2 separate regions of the Homo sapiens genome follow, and region 1 is linked to region 2. The links are contacts of gene promoters, found by promoter capture Hi-C in blood cells and fetal thymus (Javierre and others, 2016). All regions are on one chromosome and are shown on one strand. Each heading gives the region's core, a stretch centred on a gene start or on the middle of the fragment in contact. The rest is flanking DNA. Distances are from core to core; before and after follow the strand shown.

What was found. The method cuts DNA at HindIII sites, captures the fragments that hold promoters and counts their contacts. A CHiCAGO score of 5 or more calls a contact.
Region 1: a fragment that was not itself captured here is called in contact with the fragment with the promoter of CD93 in region 2 in 1 of 17 cell types (erythroblasts); the score reaches 5.6 in erythroblasts.

Annotation. Positions count from the first base shown.
Region 1 is chr20:22,339,925-22,346,825 of GRCh38, reverse strand. It overlaps the pseudogene BBLNP1. Among named protein-coding and RNA genes, the nearest start is that of LINC01427, 61 kb to the right of the region's middle. The HindIII fragment of the contact is 1,474 bases long and covers 4,385-5,858 here.
Region 2 is chr20:23,082,512-23,089,288 of GRCh38, reverse strand. It overlaps CD93 (CD93 molecule), which reads left to right and starts at 2,965. Exons shown (of 2, transcript NM_012072.4): 1 at 2,965-5,030; 2 at 5,315-6,777. The coding sequence starts at 3,097. The coding sequence ends at 5,339. RefSeq lists enhancers at 1,135-1,274, 2,802-2,981. The HindIII fragment of the contact is 6,182 bases long and covers 1-6,017 here.

The DNA.
Region 1 (6,901 bases), core at 3,872-6,371, 740 kb after region 2:
TTTTTTTTTCCTTATATGATGTGTGAACATAGTGTTAAGTTCATTCAAAGGAGGCAGGAAAATTTTCTGCTTCACTGTCAAGGCATGGGAGTGGGGCTCTGCCTGGGACTCTGGGAGAGAGAAGTGTGGGAGAAATAGGATCTTGTCACATGAAGGACCGGGTGTCATCTGTCCTGCTGGACATAGCTGAGATCACAGATCCTCACAGAGTGGGTAGGGGTGTTCTTATATTTCATTTAATTATCACAAAGACCTATCGGGCTGCCCATACTTACTGTAAGAGAGGAGGAAGCAGTGCTTCAAATCAGTGAACTCCCATGGGATGTAGTTGGGGTCTGAACTTGTGCCTCCAGACACAAAAGATGTTGATCACATTTGTCAAAAAATGACTTTCAAATTGCAGGAAGCTGCTATCATCTTCCATGCCTTCATCTTGCAGATGAGAAAACCTGGTTGAGAGGCCTAGGGATTTTACAACAAACATAATGCACCAAAGAACAAAGGAGAAGAATAAGAAGATGCTTCCGAGTTCTGGATTTATGCTCCTTCTGTTCCACAGTGGTCCCTTTAAAGCTTTCATGGAGACACAGTGGGATAAGAGGTTACCACTATCATTCGTGTTTGCCCCCAGCATATACTAGTGTTCATGCATACTAGCACTGTGTGAGCATGTATGTATGAGCGAGTATCCTTGTATGTGCAAGGGTGTTCTTGCATGAGAGTGTGTGTTGCGTGAATTTGTACATACACATGAGTGTATATGCATTTTTGGTGGTGAAAGGGAGAAAATAGTATTTACTGAGCCCCAAGGCCACGCCTAGTATAAACCAAGAACTTCCTTTAAATTATTGCACACATTTAGGTAGATATTATTATTACCTGCATTTTTCAGATGACAAAAACTTTGAGTTAAATAGTACATATTACCAACTCGCAATATAATACATTGTTTACAGGAGTCATAAAGGGTGTAATCTAAGTTTTCCTAGACCTGAGAATATACTCTAAGAATCCTGCAATGATTCACATGAGAAATGGAGGTTAGCATCACAATGGAGTACAGAGATGTGCTAGTTAATAAATTGCTGGTTACTTCAATGTCTAGCCACCATGGTCTGACAGCACAGACTTTGGAATCAGTAGACCCTGCTTTGCTCTCATGTTCAACTACACACCAGCAGCAAGGTCCCTGAATAAGGCCAAGAAGCAAGGGCTTCTATCCTTTTTAAGACATCTTGCCATTTTCAGAATAACTGTTTTTGGTAGCTGTTCTTGCATATACTCAAGGGTGCAAAGCACATTTCTTGCCTGGGTTAAATAAAATACAATGTGACAATGCCATGCAATGTATTAGGTTACATCATATAAAATTGCCGATATCCAGTTATTTTTTTCCTGCAAAAATGATCATTTTATATGGCTCAACCCAATCCTTTATTAAACTGTAAGAAAGAGAGAAATAGCCATAGAGAACCCGCAAACCATGCAGGAAAGTTAATCTAGGTAACAAGAGGCAAGAGTTATGATCAGCTTTCCAAAGCAGTTCTTAACAATCTGCCACTTTCAAAGGAACTCCCCTGCTCTGTATTTATGGTGAACTCAGCTTGTGCAAGAAACAAGGTCTGTAGGATGAGATTCAGAATTAGGGGATCAATATTTTATGCCAAATCCAAGCTTCTGGTGGATGGGAATTGATGAGGAAGGACGAAGGGGAGACCAGGCAGCTGCAAATGTGGCCTTTGTGGATCTGACCTACTTGTACATTCAGGGTCCATCCTGGCCCCAGCTTCTGTAAATGAATAATTTAAAAAACCCTCCTTGAATCCCTTGTTAGGTAACTCTTAAGGCTACTCTTTATCTTTTAGTATTAATGTCTAGACAGAGGTTCTCAAACTTTGGGGTCTCAGGATCCCCTTATACTTTTAAAATTATTGACAATGTAAAGAGATTTGGTTTGTGTGGGCTTATCTACTGATAGTTAATGTATTAGAAAATATAACTGAGATTTAAAAATGCTTATGCATTAATCGGCCCAGTGCCTTGACTTAAGCCTGTAATCCCAGCACATTGGGAGTCAGAGGCCAGCGGATTACTTGAGGTCAAGAGTTCGAGACCAGCCTGGCCAACATGGTGAAACCCCGTGTCTACCAAAAATACAAAAATTAGCGGAGCGTGGTGGGGCTTGCCTGTAATCCCAGTTACTCGGAAGGCTGACACAAGAGAATCACTTGAACCCAGGCAGAGGTTGCAGTGAGCCAAGATCGCACCACTGCACTCCAGCCTGGGCGACAGAGAGAGACTCCATCTCAAATAAATAAATAAATAAATAAATAAATAAAATAATACTTATGTAACATAAATGAACAGTTTTATGAAACATACTATACTTTTCCAAAACAGAAGCTGGGCGGAAAGAATTTCACCTGCTTGCCTTCTATTTAAAGACTGGCTTAACAAGACACCTGGAATTTCGTGTCTGCCTCTGCTTTTGATCTGCTGGAACATCCCATGTGCCCTCGCCTCTGGAAATCCCGAGTACACTAGTGAATAAAGCAAGTCATTTCTCAGGAGCACAGTATTAGGAAAATAGTTTTGAATTTATGGACCTCTGAAAAGGATCCTTAGGGCCTCGAGGGTCTCTGGACCATATTTTCAGAACCACTGGCCTAGGGTGATTTTTAAAAATTATTAGACTTTACTCTTAGATCAGTTTGAGACCCCAAAAGGCCCTCATTCTATTGTGCAGCCAGGGTTGGGAATCGCCACTGTCTGTTGTCTTATTGTCTAAAACGCATCTGCGATCCTCCCTGACCACCCCCAATGCCCCCACCCGGCTCCCGCTTTCAGAGCGAAGGTCGCCGCGCTCCTTCGTCGCGGGGCCCTCCTGGTGCCTGAGTCAGGTCCCATGCGGAACGTGGGCGTGCGGGGACAGCGGGAGACCAAGGCAAGGGCGACGGCTTCCGGGAAGCAGAATATGCTGCCATCACATCCTGGACCAGGTCAACTTCTGTCTGGACCACCGGCAGGAGAACGACCCCCTCCACGCCTGCCTCCAGTAGCCGCTGAAGTCCAACCGGAAGAGGCGCCTTGAGTTCCAGCAGCAGCTCCGGGAGGTCCCGGCCATGCCAGTCCCTAGGTTCCGGGTGCCCCGAAACAGGCCCAACCGTGTCCCCTGGGCCAGGCTCCGGCTTGGGCACTCACCTCTTGGCTTAAATACCTTCTCCAGGGCCAGCCTTCAGGGTACCCTGGTGGGTCTGCAGCCTGGGACAGCTTCCCACACCTTCCCACAGTCCCCTTTGCCTGTCTAAGCTGGTCCCCACCGCCTGGCATCCCCTTCTGGGGCCAGAGGTGGGCCTGAGTCCCACCCACGTGCCTGCCTGCTCAGCCTTCTGTGCACTTCCTACTCTGTCCAGGCCTTGAGCGTCCACATTCAATGGATCTCACACACACACACACACACACACACACACACACACACACACACATCAATCAATTGCATCGGGTGTCCTATCAAAAGTCCAAACTCCGGCCGAGAGCGGTGGCTCACGCCTGTAATTCTAGCACTTTGAGAAGCCGAGGTGGGTGGATCAGGAGGTCAGGAATTCGAGACCAGCCTGGCCAAGATGGTGAAACTCCGTCTCTACTAAAAAATACAAAAATTAGTCGGGCACGGTGGCGGACGCCTGTAATCCCAGCCGCTCAGGAGGCTGAGGCAGGAGAATTGCTTGAACCTGGGAGGCAGACTTTGCAGTGAGCCGAGATCGTGCCACTGCACTCTAGCCTGGGCAACAGAGAAAGACTCTGTCAAAACAAAACAAAACAAAACAAAACAAAACAAAACAAAACACCAAAAACAAAACGTCCAAACTCCTTAGCAGGGTAGAGTCCCTAAGACCTAATAGCCTTCTTTCTGTCTTGTGGTCCCAGGTCTCCAGGGACAAGCGTGGTGTTAGCCTGACAATATTCAACTGAAGTTCTCAAGCTTTTTCCTCTGTGCAGCACTGGGAGACTTGCAGCCCTCTGCAAAACTGTCCTCTTATTTCTACCTGAGTTCCCCAGGTGGGGCCCAATAAACCCTGCTAATAATTCTCCACCAAAAGATTGTCATTTTAAGGAGTGCAGAGAAAGTGTCTTTTTTACAGGACTATTGTCAGCACTTCCTTGCAAGTGGTAGCTCAGTAAACATTTATCGAATGAATGAATGAATGAATGAATGCCACATGAACACAGCCACAAAGATGCCGAGTTCACCATCAAGCTACTCTGTTGTTCTATGTCTTGTTTTATGGATTTTAAACATGTGCTTCTCCATTCTAACGACTCATTGAGTGGGGAGTGTGTGTGTGTGTGTGTGTGTGTGTGTGTGTATCTCACGGAACAAGCTTGTGAGCCTGTCTATTTCACTCTAAGGAAGTTCACCAAATATATGAATTCTTGTCAGCTGGGCCCAGCCAGCCCTCCGCATGTGCCCTGAGCCATTGAGGCAACTAGAGGGTGTCCATGTCCAGTCGGAAGGTTGAATGCTGGTTGGGTGCTGTGTGCTGGTGGCCTAGGACAGGGTCAGGTTAGGAATAGCAGTCCCTTTAGGATTGTTCCTTCTTCTACACCCCTCAGCTTGCATGCATGTGCAGGTGTGTGTGTGTGTGCGCGTGTGCATGCATATGTATGTGAGAGAGAGTGTATGTGTATGTGCATTTTGAACCATTTGAAAGTGAGCTAAAGATAGCATCCCCTCTGCCTAATATATATTTTGGTGTCTATTTCCAAAGAACAGGATATCCCTTTCCATAACCATAACAGTTACCCAAATCGGCACATTTAACTTGGATACAATACTTTCAATCCACAGACTGTATTTAAATGTTGCCAGTTTCTCCAGTGATATACTTTAGAGCTATGCTCCGTCTCTTCGGTCTGCTTTAATTTTGGACAACTCCTCAGTAGTTTTTGTCTGATTTGACCTTGGCATTTTTGAGAGGTGCAGGTCACTTTATGTTATAGCCGATATATCCATTTGGCACTGGTCATGTGAATATCTAAATAATAAGAAGTCCTGGTCCCACGTATAATGGGATAAGCACATGCCACTCATCTTGCTCAGCGGATGTCGCTATAAAACCTGAACATAAGGCACAGGGCAGCTGTGAGGACTCTGAAAAGTGACTCATAGAAGAGGACTGGAACTTAAAGTGCTGAAACTGCTGGTGATTTTTTTTTTTTGTCTGTTACTTTTATCCCTCGGCACTCGATGCAGATGCAGTTGCTGAAGTACACACAGAACCAAGTAACTAAAATTCCAGCTTTGTTGCCAGAAGACCTAAAAAGGGACTCCAGGGAACTAGAAAATCCTGGGAGCTCATGGAGAGGGAGGAGTTCAGAGAGTGGCCCACACAGTTGACATGGGTTTGACGAAATACACACAGGAGATGCTAAGAGTGGAGCAAGAGAGACTCAGGCCTGGACCAGCCATGGTGGGGCACATAACTGATCAATGTAAAAAACACTGCCAAGGCTTTTGTTTCTTTGAGTTCTTAAATAATTAATTAATAGACTATTTTTAGAGCAGTTTTAGGTTTTTGGAAAATTGAGTAGATGGTATCAAGTTCCCATATGCTCCTGCACCCCCCCACTCCCCTTATTATTACCATCTTGCAATGATGTGGTACATTTGTTATAATTGATGAGCCAATATTGTTATGTTATTATTCATTAAAGTCCATAGTTAAGTCCAGAGTTCACATTAGGGTTCACTCTTGGGTACATCCTATGGGTTTTGACAAATGCATAATGACATGCATCCACCATAGGGTACCATACAGAATACTTTTAACTGCCCTAAAAATCTCCTGTGCTAAGCTTGTGTGGTGGTGTGTGCCTGTGGTCTCAGCTATTCTGGAGGCTGCAATGGGAGATCCCTTGAGTCCCATAGTTCAAGGCTGCAGTGAGCTATGATCATGCTTCAGCTTGGGTGACAGAATAAGACCCCGTCTTAAAAAAATAAAAATTAAAAAATTGTCTCTCCTGTACCTATTCATCCCTCCCTCTACTCATCCCCAACAACCCCACCCCAGCTGAACCTCTGACAAACACTACTCTTTTTACTTCTCCATAGATTTGGCTTTTCCAGAATGTCATATCGTTGAAATCATACAGTATGCAGCCTTTTCAGATTGACTTCTTTCTTTATCAATATGCGTTTAAGGTTCCTCTATGTCTTTTTCTGTGGCTGGTTAGCTTTTTCTTTTTATTACTGAATAATATTCCATCGTCTGGATGTACTACAGTCTGTTTATCCACTCGCTGTTGAAGGACATCTTGGTTGTATCCAAATTTTGGCAATTATGAATAAAGTTGGCATAAACATTCTCATGTAGTTTTTTTGTAGAGACACAAGTTTTCAACTTATCTGGGCAAATATCAAAGAGCCTGCCTGCTGCTTCACAGGGTAACAATATGATTACTTTTGTAAGAAACTGCCAATCTCCCTTCCAAGTCAGCTGAACTGTTTTGCACAGGCTTTGGACTTGGAGTTATGCAAGGGTAAGCTGAAGTCTCTAAGAGGGCATGATAGGGCTGGTTTTGTGAGTTTTGGAAAACTACAAACATGATTCAGCTGCAACAGTGGGAAGGAACTGCCACTGCTGGGTGGAAGCGGCCTTGCTGGAGAGATGCTGGGAGGAGGAGGAAGTCCTCAGGAGGAACGGTCGGGCCCCTCTCCCTCCAGATTTGCGGCCTCACTCTAGCGTCCCCTTGCCAGGAGCATCTGGCCAAGCCCAACTGCAGTTTGCAGAGTCCCAGTGCTGGCATCACAAGGCAGGATATAGAAAGGTGGGTTTGGAGCCAAGAGAAAATCATTTAATAATGGCATTACTCCCAGCCCCCGCTGGGATAAGTCCCTATC
Region 2 (6,777 bases), core at 1,716-4,215:
GGGGGTCTGGGAGACCCTGAGCCCCAAGAGGCAATCCCCTGTGTTCTCAGAACCAGGTACCTCCAGCGGACACAGCCTTCCAGGACCCCAGCTCCCGGCAGGAGCCATGCAGTCCTTCTGCGTGCCCGGTGCCCTTCCCCCCACCTCCACCCAGCCCCGAGAACATCTGACCTGGACTCCACAGCCTGGAAACCTGCGGCCACCTGCTGAGGGCCCCCCCACCCACTGCTTGGGTCCACTGACCAGTCCCCTTCCACATGTAGGCCTCATGCCAGCCCTCAGTGTTTCCCCGTGGATTTCAAGACGAAGCCTCAAGCCTTCATTACTGGGGTTCACAGGGCTCCATCTTCCCCTGCATCCTCCCTCCCACTGCCTGGGCTTTGGTCTCCCTGCCCTTCACTCACTCTCTGTCCCCAGGGCTTCTGTACATGCTGTTCCCCCATCCCGACACCATTCCACATCTGAGCTGCTTCTCCTTTAGATTCCGGCTTGACTGCCTGTCTTCTCCAGAGGAGTCTCTCCTAATTGCCCATCCCCCAGTCAGGATGCCACCCCTGTATCAACCACGACCTCCCCGCTCCCCTGTGCTGCCTGCAATAAAGCCATCAGTGCCGTGACTTGTTCAAAGTTGTCCACTCTAACAGGACTCCAGGATCACAGAGGCAGGGATCCCCTCCTGGAATCCAGTGCCTCACTCAGTGCATAGCAGGGTCTTAATCAACAATTGTTAGATGGGTGGATGGACAAACAGATGGATGAATGAAGGGGCACAGGGAGGGTCTGGTGGCTTCTATGGAGAGTTCCCAAAATGTCTCAAATATCTTTGCTAAAATGCAAGGACTTAAGGCACATTCTTAGGAGGTATCCAGCTGGAGTCAGAGATGCCTCCTTGTCCCTTGGGGAGCCAGCGAGCTCCTAGCCCCCGGGACAACTCAACATCTCCATGGAGGCCACTGTGGTGGTCGCTGGTGCCGGGTCCACAGGCGTTCACTGTGTTCTCCACCGTGGCGCTTCTTCCCCTGGGGCCCTCACGGTCAGTGCAGAGCACCAAAGAGTTGCCGCTGTGTAGAGAATTCTTATAATTGTGCATTGCATCCATTTTGAATCTAATTTGGACCCTCTCCTACCAGAAGCAGGGTTTATTGCTCTTGACACGGTGTCTAGGGCTCCACCCCCTCCCAGTTCCTCAATGCGGCCAACCCAGATATCTGCCTTGTACACCCACCTCCTGGTGACCATTTCCCTGTGGGACAGGCAGATACAGCCCATTTGATGGTCTCAGTGACTCCACACCCCACAGGGACTTCCCAGACATGCCGCCATGCCCACCTCTCAGCCACAGGGACCCCACGGAGCCCGTGTCTGTTTGCTCTAAACCCACCAGTGAGAAGTCCCCTTGGGAAACCTGCTTGGGAAACGTCCTGGACCCCAATAAAGGCTTAGGACCCAGGTCTCTCTCTCTCCCTTCACCCCCCTCCAGGTGAGTGTTTGTGACCCAGACAGCTCCCCACTTTTTGCTGGCCCCGTGGGGTGCACTGCCCTCTCCCTGGGATCTGTAAGTGACACGGTGCTTGTGTTGCTTCCTGTGTCTTCTTGTGCTGCCTCCTGCATCTCCCCTGACCCACACCCCAACCCAACTCTCCTCCCATCAGGGATCTCTTAGGAAGTGGCTGTCTTGATAGGAATAAACTGGACATGGGTCAGACGAGAGCCACAAGGGTGTCTGTCCATAGAAACAAGTTTTATGTGAGAGAGACCCCTGGTCACTGGGCAGGGCTAGAATTTATAGTCAGTCTCTCAAAGTGAGAGATACAGCCTGCTACCAATGACAGGGGACTTGGAGAGCAGTGGAGCCTCTCCCTCAGCTGAGATGGTGCTGAGGTGTGGTCCCCTCAGGCCCCCAGAGTTTCCTGGCACTGGCTCCAGCAGCCCAGGGTCACCTTCTCAGCAAGTCATCATGGGTTGGCTTCCTCCTTGTCTGTTTCACTTCCCCTCCCACATAAACTAGTCTCCCCAAATCCTGTCTCAGGGTCCCCTCCTGGGGGATCCCAACCAATGAGCAAAGGTCTGTGGCTGCAGGAAAAGCACACTGTGAGTCCCTGGCTTTTGCCGAGTCGCGGTGTCGCGGGAGGGCCTGCCCGGGCTTCGATTCCCGCTCCCTGCCCAGATTTCCGGCCCTTGCTAGGAATCCTGAGCCGGGGGAAGTGAGCCTGCAAGCCCTGCGCCACGAGGCCGGACACATTTTCATTTTCTTTCTGATGCTTTTTGTGACCCTGACACCTCACAATGCAATATTTCCACTATGAAACCCCCAGAACTGCCAAATTTCACCCAATTTGGATTAACATTATCGAGGAGCTTGGCATTATGTTGAAAACCCAGACATTCCCACGACCCGTATCCTATTTAAAAAATGCCTGTCTATTTAAGGTTCACGATGGGAGGATAAAAGAAAAAAGGCTCCCAAAGTCAACAGAGAACATGAGCTAGGCAAAAGGAAAGTCCAGTTTGCTTCTAAAAAAGGCTGAAAATTATAACCATCCATGGCCTTGTGTCTTAAGTCTCAGAATTTTTTTTTTCTCTTTTGGTGGTTTGCAAACCAAAGTGGAATTTTATTATGGGTTACTAAGGGAGCTTCCTCGAGTTCCTAGCCCCCAAAGCCCCTGCTCACTCCATGGCATGCCTCCGAGGCTCCTCATGCCATGAGAAAGAGAATGGAGCCAAAATCAAGCCGGCAGTATCTCGGGGCTGTAACGTCTTCCCCCCGTCGCTGTTTCCACAGTGCTGAGCCAGGGACCCGGCAGAGCTGCCTGACTCCTTTTATGAACAACAGCACCGTGATGAAGGCAGCAGGAGTCAGAGAACTATTCATTGCAGGAAGCCCCAACATCCGGTGAGAAATAAGAAGTACAACAGTACAGGATGCGCCTTGGGTCAGGGGGACGTGGAAAGCCCTCAGCCTTTGTGTCCTTCTCTGCGCCGGAGTGGCTGCAGCTCACCCCTCAGCTCCCCTTGGGGCCCAGCTGGGAGCCGAGATAGAAGCTCCTGTCGCCGCTGGGCTTCTCGCCTCCCGCAGAGGGCCACACAGAGACCGGGATGGCCACCTCCATGGGCCTGCTGCTGCTGCTGCTGCTGCTCCTGACCCAGCCCGGGGCGGGGACGGGAGCTGACACGGAGGCGGTGGTCTGCGTGGGGACCGCCTGCTACACGGCCCACTCGGGCAAGCTGAGCGCTGCCGAGGCCCAGAACCACTGCAACCAGAACGGGGGCAACCTGGCCACTGTGAAGAGCAAGGAGGAGGCCCAGCACGTCCAGCGAGTACTGGCCCAGCTCCTGAGGCGGGAGGCAGCCCTGACGGCGAGGATGAGCAAGTTCTGGATTGGGCTCCAGCGAGAGAAGGGCAAGTGCCTGGACCCTAGTCTGCCGCTGAAGGGCTTCAGCTGGGTGGGCGGGGGGGAGGACACGCCTTACTCTAACTGGCACAAGGAGCTCCGGAACTCGTGCATCTCCAAGCGCTGTGTGTCTCTGCTGCTGGACCTGTCCCAGCCGCTCCTTCCCAGCCGCCTCCCCAAGTGGTCTGAGGGCCCCTGTGGGAGCCCAGGCTCCCCCGGAAGTAACATTGAGGGCTTCGTGTGCAAGTTCAGCTTCAAAGGCATGTGCCGGCCTCTGGCCCTGGGGGGCCCAGGTCAGGTGACCTACACCACCCCCTTCCAGACCACCAGTTCCTCCTTGGAGGCTGTGCCCTTTGCCTCTGCGGCCAATGTAGCCTGTGGGGAAGGTGACAAGGACGAGACTCAGAGTCATTATTTCCTGTGCAAGGAGAAGGCCCCCGATGTGTTCGACTGGGGCAGCTCGGGCCCCCTCTGTGTCAGCCCCAAGTATGGCTGCAACTTCAACAATGGGGGCTGCCACCAGGACTGCTTTGAAGGGGGGGATGGCTCCTTCCTCTGCGGCTGCCGACCAGGATTCCGGCTGCTGGATGACCTGGTGACCTGTGCCTCTCGAAACCCTTGCAGCTCCAGCCCATGTCGTGGGGGGGCCACGTGCGTCCTGGGACCCCATGGGAAAAACTACACGTGCCGCTGCCCCCAAGGGTACCAGCTGGACTCGAGTCAGCTGGACTGTGTGGACGTGGATGAATGCCAGGACTCCCCCTGTGCCCAGGAGTGTGTCAACACCCCTGGGGGCTTCCGCTGCGAATGCTGGGTTGGCTATGAGCCGGGCGGTCCTGGAGAGGGGGCCTGTCAGGATGTGGATGAGTGTGCTCTGGGTCGCTCGCCTTGCGCCCAGGGCTGCACCAACACAGATGGCTCATTTCACTGCTCCTGTGAGGAGGGCTACGTCCTGGCCGGGGAGGACGGGACTCAGTGCCAGGACGTGGATGAGTGTGTGGGCCCGGGGGGCCCCCTCTGCGACAGCTTGTGCTTCAACACACAAGGGTCCTTCCACTGTGGCTGCCTGCCAGGCTGGGTGCTGGCCCCAAATGGGGTCTCTTGCACCATGGGGCCTGTGTCTCTGGGACCACCATCTGGGCCCCCCGATGAGGAGGACAAAGGAGAGAAAGAAGGGAGCACCGTGCCCCGTGCTGCAACAGCCAGTCCCACAAGGGGCCCCGAGGGCACCCCCAAGGCTACACCCACCACAAGTAGACCTTCGCTGTCATCTGACGCCCCCATCACATCTGCCCCACTCAAGATGCTGGCCCCCAGTGGGTCCCCAGGCGTCTGGAGGGAGCCCAGCATCCATCACGCCACAGCTGCCTCTGGCCCCCAGGAGCCTGCAGGTGGGGACTCCTCCGTGGCCACACAAAACAACGATGGCACTGACGGGCAAAAGCTGCTTTTATTCTACATCCTAGGCACCGTGGTGGCCATCCTACTCCTGCTGGCCCTGGCTCTGGGGCTACTGGTCTATCGCAAGCGGAGAGCGAAGAGGGAGGAGAAGAAGGAGAAGAAGCCCCAGAATGCGGCAGACAGTTACTCCTGGGTTCCAGAGCGAGCTGAGAGCAGGGCCATGGAGAACCAGTACAGGTAAAGGGGGCCCTGAGTGACCGGGGGAGGGGATGGGCAGGCATGGGGGCACTGACTACAGTACAAAGAGGTGGCAGCAAGAGCAGGCCCAGGTTTCCTGTGGGCAGACACACCCTGGTCCTTGCAGCTGACCCCTCAACCTCCCCCCACGCCAGGCACTCGGGCCCCCTTAGAGCATACTGCCCATCTGCAGCACGGCCGCACGTGGGGCTCTCTCCCAAGGTGGGGACGTGCAGGCACAGAGGCGCCATGGCTTCCAACGCTGTCTGTTTTGTTTCCCATAGTCCGACACCTGGGACAGACTGCTGAAAGTGAGGTGGCCCTAGAGACACTAGAGTCACCAGCCACCATCCTCAGAGCTTTGAACTCCCCATTCCAAAGGGGCACCCACATTTTTTTGAAAGACTGGACTGGAATCTTAGCAAACAATTGTAAGTCTCCTCCTTAAAGGCCCCTTGGAACATGCAGGTATTTTCTACGGGTGTTTGATGTTCCTGAAGTGGAAGCTGTGTGTTGGCGTGCCACGGTGGGGATTTCGTGACTCTATAATGATTGTTACTCCCCCTCCCTTTTCAAATTCCAATGTGACCAATTCCGGATCAGGGTGTGAGGAGGCCGGGGCTAAGGGGCTCCCCTGAATATCTTCTCTGCTCACTTCCACCATCTAAGAGGAAAAGGTGAGTTGCTCATGCTGATTAGGATTGAAATGATTTGTTTCTCTTCCTAGGATGAAAACTAAATCAATTAATTATTCAATTAGGTAAGAAGATCTGGTTTTTTGGTCAAAGGGAACATGTTCGGACTGGAAACATTTCTTTACATTTGCATTCCTCCATTTCGCCAGCACAAGTCTTGCTAAATGTGATACTGTTGACATCCTCCAGAATGGCCAGAAGTGCAATTAACCTCTTAGGTGGCAAGGAGGCAGGAAGTGCCTCTTTAGTTCTTACATTTCTAATAGCCTTGGGTTTATTTGCAAAGGAAGCTTGAAAAATATGAGAAAAGTTGCTTGAAGTGCATTACAGGTGTTTGTGAAGTCACATAATCTACGGGGCTAGGGCGAGAGAGGCCAGGGATTTGTTCACAGATACTTGAATTAATTCATCCAAATGTACTGAGGTTACCACACACTTGACTACGGATGTGATCAACACTAACAAGGAAACAAATTCAAGGACAACCTGTCTTTGAGCCAGGGCAGGCCTCAGACACCCTGCCTGTGGCCCCGCCTCCACTTCATCCTGCCCGGAATGCCAGTGCTCCGAGCTCAGACAGAGGAAGCCCTGCAGAAAGTTCCATCAGGCTGTTTCCTAAAGGATGTGTGAACGGGAGATGATGCACTGTGTTTTGAAAGTTGTCATTTTAAAGCATTTTAGCACAGTTCATAGTCCACAGTTGATGCAGCATCCTGAGATTTTAAATCCTGAAGTGTGGGTGGCGCACACACCAAGTAGGGAGCTAGTCAGGCAGTTTGCTTAAGGAACTTTTGTTCTCTGTCTCTTTTCCTTAAAATTGGGGGTAAGGAGGGAAGGAAGAGGGAAAGAGATGACTAACTAAAATCATTTTTACAGCAAAAACTGCTCAAAGCCATTTAAATTATATCCTCATTTTAAAAGTTACATTTGCAAATATTTCTCCCTATGATAATGTAGTCGATAGTGTGCACTCTTTCTCTCTCTCTCTCTCTCTCACACACACACACACACACACACACACACACACAGAGACACGGCACCATTCTGCCTGG